2 separate regions of the Homo sapiens genome follow, and region 2 is linked to region 1. Evidence: promoter capture Hi-C in 16 types of primary human blood cells and fetal thymus (Javierre and others, 2016). All regions are on one chromosome and are shown on one strand. Each heading gives the region's core, a stretch centred on a gene start or on the middle of the fragment in contact. The rest is flanking DNA. Distances are from core to core; before and after follow the strand shown.

Region 1 (2,972 bases), core at 356-2,855:
GCTCTAGGATTTCTAAAGTACCTTAAAATGAAGAAACTTTGGCATTTTAACTCTAATGCAATTGTGCAGTAGGTTTTTGAGGGAGGAAAGGGGCAGTTGGTAACAGGGGTACTTTAAAACCCATTTTAAGCCAGGTGTGGTGGCTCACGCCTGTAATCCCAGCACTTTGGGAGGCTGAGGCAGGTGGATCACTTGAGGCCAGGAGTTTGAGACCAGCCTGGCCAACATGGTGAAACCCCATCTCTACCAAAAAATACAAAAATTAGCCGGGTGTGGTGGCATGCGCCAATAGTGCCAGCTACTCGGGAGGCTGAGGTGGGAGAATCGCTGGAACCCAGGAGGCAGAGGCTGCAGTAAGTCGAGATTGTGCCACTGCACTCCAGCCTGGGTAACAGTCAGATCCTGTCTCAAAAAAAAAAAAAAAAAATCCATTTCAATGCAGTTATTTTAAGTAAAAATATTGCTTCAAGAATTAGACCCTCAATGCTCAATTATCCTTTATATAAAGAGTTGTATGCCACTGATTTCTTCATAAGTGTCTTTTTAAAATAATCTTGAATAAGTTCTGAGACATGTATATACACATCAAATCCTTTATGAGGTAAAATAAAATAACATGGTGATGAACAAGTGAGAGTGAGTACCCAGTACCCTGCGGTACCCAGTGCCCTTTTCATTTCAGATGAAACTGTAGAAAATACTTTCTGGGGTTTTTTCTGTGTGGCGGTCATTCTCTAGTGAAATTGTCTGTGGCAGGTTTTGGTCGGTGGTGTTGATTTAGCCTGTATCTGTTGGAGTATACTTTTTACCATTTTGACAAGAGAGAAGTGACAAGTGGTTACCCCACGTGGCGTGGGTGTGCTGAGATGGGATGGCGGGCAGCCCTGCCGGCACGGATCGCCCGCTTGCTGAGCTCTTGCCATACCTGGTGTCCTGGGGCAGTGCAGAGCTGCCTGAAGTATATGCCATCTGGCCCTGCATCAGCTACTGTTGGTATCGTGGAGGAGACAAAGTCCTCAAGTCTAACGGGAGACCTGGAGTGCTGCTCGTACAGTGCCAGGAGGAGAGCTGAGGAAGGGGGCCCTGAGGACAGTAGCACTCTGAGGAGGAGGTGGTGGGGAAAAAAGAGGCCATGAAAGGAGAGGGTGGGAGTACAGATGGAGAAAATGGCGAGAAAGGAGGAAGGAAAGTTCAGGAAATGTGCAGGGAGTGAAGCCAGGCGGGCCAGGGCATTGCTGGGGAGGGACGAGGTCCCTGCGGAAACCAGCTGGGAAGGAGGCTGAGGTGGATTTGTGGAGGGTCTGAAATTCATGGTGATGTTCCTGCACTGCCAAAGGGGAATCAGCCTTTTTTTCTCCTTTGAGAGAACAGATGAGGGTTGAAATTAGAACTGTGTTTTTAAACTATATTTTAGCAACCTTTAAAATATATGTATATATATATTAAGTAGAGTCATAGTGCATAATATAACAACAAAATCGGAGCCTTAACTCTCACCTTCTTCTGGGCCTCAGGAACCCCGAGCTCATGGGAAAAGTCTTGAGGATCTCCCCATCAGGAAGGTCACGGAGGGACTGCAGGAGCAGGGAGTTGCTAGAAGGAAGAGACCTGCCAGGCAGCTATTGTACATGGAGGGGATGGGACCCAGTGCAGGGAACAGAAAGGAAGTAGGTGTGAGAAACGTTGCCACTCTCACCTGGACCAAGTGCGATAGCTGATTGGCTGCAGGAGAGCTGGGGGCGGGTATTCGGTATGAGATCCACAGGCTGCTGGGAATGCAAAGAGCCAGGAAGACAGGAAGAAAAGTTGATGGGAGGAGGAGGAGACACCAGAGGGGTCGGCTCGGGTTTCAGGTGTTCGGGGCCACCTCATATGAGATGCTTGAAATAATTGGACTGTGACTCAGGCGACGGGTCAGCCTGCTGACAGATTTGGGAGGCTGCTGCGTGGAAGGGGAATTTGAAACGTGGGCTGGATCAGCACGGAGGATTGGGCAGGGAGAAGGCCAAGGCTCAAGTGGAGAAACAGCCATCAAGTTTAAAGTAGGAAGGAGGGAAGAGCCAGCAAAGGGGGTGGTGAGCGGTGATAGGAAGACAGCAAGCCAGGCACAGCGGTCAGGGACGTCAGTGATGACCAAGAAGCGGCCTCCAGGAGAGGCGAATGTTACAGGTGCCTTTCCCCGTGAGGTCTGGAAGAAATACTGGCTTGTAACCTCGCAGGCCACTGTACCCCTTGAGTCTCAATTTCTTTGAGTCAAATTGGGGTCATTTTCTGCCCTACCAGCCCCATCTGCCCTTGTGTGACGATCAAGTAAGATAAGTGTAAAACCACCGGCCATCTGCTCCATTCCAGCTGTAATAGGAACTAGACTGTGGACAGTGTTGATGTGAGGCCTCCAGGGAAGAGGATTAAAGTATATCGGAGCTCTTGTTCCTTTGTTCAGGCTTGACACAGTCTCCTTTGTCACCAGGTTTGTTAACCACAGGAGCACTGAGCTTCTCAGACATCCCACACCTTTGTGGGAAATACCTGTTGGGAAGTATTTTTGACACACACTGTGTGCATACATTGGGAAGAGCTCTCTAGTGGCTATTTTTTTTTAATAGGCATTTGACAAGATTATTGCCTTAAGGCGACAGTGAGAGCTAATGCTTCTGTAGCTCCTATTCTGTTCCAGATACTGTTCTAAATACAAGTAACGCATTCGATCCTCTCAGCCAACCCTATGAGGTAGATATTGAGAAAATTAGTGCTCAGAGAGGTTCAATAACTTGCCCAAAGTCCTAGAGCTAGTGAGTGCCCAAGCCAGGTTGGAACCTAGAATCCCGGCTCCAGAGCCAGTGCTCTGAACCACTGTGGAAGAATACCAGGCGGGCTATGACGGCATGCAAGCCAGGCACACAGCCTGTGCTAAAACCGTCTGTGAAAGGAGAGAAGACTGCATTGGTACAGTCAGAAGACTTGATGGGAGA
Region 2 (2,820 bases), core at 145-2,644, 120 kb after region 1:
ATTTTCAGATGAGGGACCAAGGGTAAGGAACTGGCCCAGGTTCATAAAGACTCACAAAGAGCAGAGTTAACATTTATCCTAAGTGCTATATCACCTCTCCTCCTAACCAACTTGCTGTCATTGAATTTTGAATGAGTTTGCAACTTCTCTCTTTTATAGGCATAAAGCATCCCTGTAGCTAAATCTTTGTAAATGTCAATAATTGTTTTCCTAGAACCAATTCCTAGAATGGAATTTCTAAGTCAATTCATTTAAGGTGACAAAGAAATGATATTTGTTTTGTAAATTAAACAATTATGAACAAATTGTTTCAGATGCTTGGAGGAACCATATTTATTGAACACGATAACTGACAATTGATTTACAAGCAGTAATTACTATTGGTCTGATGGGATTTCTTTGAAATGTAACTTCCTATTTACATAGTTTCTCCTGAACAAGAACTTGACTGAGCATAAGCAGGCATTTCTCTAGCTCCGGCCCTTGGCTCCATGTGCCCCAAGACAGGTTGGTGGCTGTACTCTACAGCAGACACCCACACCAGATCCCACCCCTCAAAGATTCAGGCAGATGCCTCCTGAATAGCTATGCTGCACCATGACAGTACGCCAGGGCAGAGAGGCACTGTCACATTCTAGATGTCCCTCCGGCCCCCACCCCAGCCCAGGAATGAAAGGATGGAACAGTATTAGAGTTAGACCTTCAAGGACTGCCCCATAGCCACCCTGCCATCCTGGGCAGACGAGCTATGCAATCTCTAAGTAGAAATAACCCCTACCTCTGGGTTTGTGGTAAAAGTTAAAATTTGACAGTCTATTATGCTAATATTTGGCCTAGATGAGGCTCTCAGCAAACCGTGGCTAATACCATCATCAGCTTCATTCAGATTTACCATCATGTGTCCTCCCTCCTCTTATGCTTCCCTTCCCCCTCCCAGCCCTCTGCTACCAGAATATAAATATGTGCTAAGAGAAAAGAATGTGCTTATATGAGAGACTTAGAGTAGTCAAATTCATGGAAACAAAGTAGACTGGTGGTTACTAGGGGCTGGAGGAGGGCAGAATAGGGAATTCGAGTTTAATGGGTACAATTTCTGTTTTGCAAGATGAAAAAGCTCTGGAGATTGTTTGCGCACCAGTGTGGATGTACTTACTACTGGACTGTACACTTACAGGTGGGTAATGCACTAAATTTTATCTTATATGCCTTTTACCACAGTTTTTTTAAGTTAAAAAAAAACTTTTGTTCAGGAAATAATGTGCTTACACCACAATATTCTCATTAATCTTGGTGGGTCAAGGCAAGGGTACGCTTTATGCTTTCTGGTTATCATTTCCAAAGCTCCCGCACAGTGAGCTGGGCCCCTGCCCTTGTCTCAGACTCTCCTCTTCCACGTCCCTGCCCCATGCAGCCCATGGAAACCACAGCCGGGTGGCAGGGTGAACACATTCCTGGCAGGGTAAGATCTCTTTTAATGAAGTCTTGTTGTGTTTTTTTTGTTTGTTTGTTTTTTGTTTAATGTAAATGTAAATCCAAGTCTTCGATATCCCTGTGAAACAGGTATTATGACTTTAGAAAACACAAAACCTTCCCTTGACCCTCTGCGCCTAGCCAGCCTGCTGCATTTCTCCCACCCACACCCTCCACCTTTCAAAAATACTTTACTTTTTGACGTCTCCTCTTCCACCTCGGCTTACATCTCCCTGTTTTAAAATGCAGGTTTTATTATTATTCAGGTATGGTGAGGCTGACAGATCAGGGAATGACTGCCATTGAAAAGAGTTTATTGTTCACAGTTCCCAAAACAAGGGGGCATGCCACGCCACACAGGGCCACACGGGAGAGCACCAGGGCCAATCCGGGGAAGCGGGGAAGGGGCAAAACATGGCAGGAGCCTTCATTGTGGTTTCCTTGAGAAAGGCGAGGCAGGCCAAGGATAGGCTAGTTTGAATTTCTGTGAGCTCGGGCGCATACGCCCTAGGTTGTCTGGTATCTGCCCTGGAGTGATTGGGGCAGAGGATAGTGGCCGGGAGCGTGAGAGCCCTACAGCGGAGGTGCTTGGAGTGTGGGCGCTGGATTGTTTGGTTGGCAGATGAAAGGCACACCGGCCGGGCGCGGTGGCTCACGCCTGTAATCCCAGCACTTTGGGAGGACGAGGCGGGTGGATCACCTGAGGTCAGGAGTTGGAGACCAGCCTGGTCAACATGGTGAAATCCTGTCTTTACTCAAAATACAAAAAAAAAAAATAGCTGGGCGTGGTGGTGCGCGCCAGTAATCCCAGCTACTCGGAAGGCTGAGGAAGAAGAATCCTTGAGCCCGGGAGGCCGACGTTGCAGTGATCCAAGATTGTGCCATTACATTCCAGCCTGGGCAACAAGAGCGAAACTCCGTCTCAAAAACAAGAAAAAAAGAAAAAGAAAAAATAAAGAAAAAGAAAGGCACACCCATGGGTGCATCCTGTGTTTGCTATCGCTAAGAATTGGCTAGCCCTGGGAAGGGCACTCCTTCTAGGACCAGTAAAGCCTCAAATGTCAGAACATCAAGCTAAGATGCTCTCTCTAGCCCCTCCCCACTGCCCTGAATCTCCTCTCTCCGTAACTGCTAAGTCCGCTCTTTTCTTCCAAGGCTTCGCCCTTCACCGCATGATATCCTGTGTCACAGGTTCTCACCCCTGGCTGTCCAGAGGAATTGCTAGAAGGGATATAAAGATCCGAATGCCCTGGCCTCGCCTCCCACCAGTTATGCCACTCCAGGGAGAGGCACAAGCGCCAGGCAGCTTTAGGGTTCCTGATAATTCCAAAGTGCAGCTGACGCTGGATT

Evidence for each region. The method cuts DNA at HindIII sites, captures the fragments that hold promoters and counts their contacts. A CHiCAGO score of 5 or more calls a contact.
Region 2: a contact is called between a fragment that was not itself captured here and the fragment with the promoter of MRPS9-AS1 in region 1, in 11 of 17 cell types (total B cells, naive B cells, M2 macrophages and 8 more). The highest score is 9.7, in total B cells.

Annotation. Positions count from the first base shown.
Region 1 is chr2:105,101,339-105,104,310 of GRCh38, forward strand. It overlaps MRPS9-AS1 (MRPS9 antisense RNA 1), which reads right to left and starts at 1,606. Exons shown (of 4, transcript NR_110227.1): 1 at 1,498-1,606. It overlaps LOC105373527 (a long non-coding RNA gene), which reads left to right and starts at 419. Exons shown (of 3, transcript XR_923138.3): 1 at 419-2,972. RefSeq lists an enhancer at 2,162-2,972. The HindIII fragment of the contact is 13,539 bases long and covers 1-2,972 here.
Region 2 is chr2:105,221,991-105,224,810 of GRCh38, forward strand. No RefSeq gene overlaps it. Among named protein-coding and RNA genes, the nearest start is that of GPR45, 18 kb to the right of the region's middle. The HindIII fragment of the contact is 3,786 bases long and covers 1-2,820 here.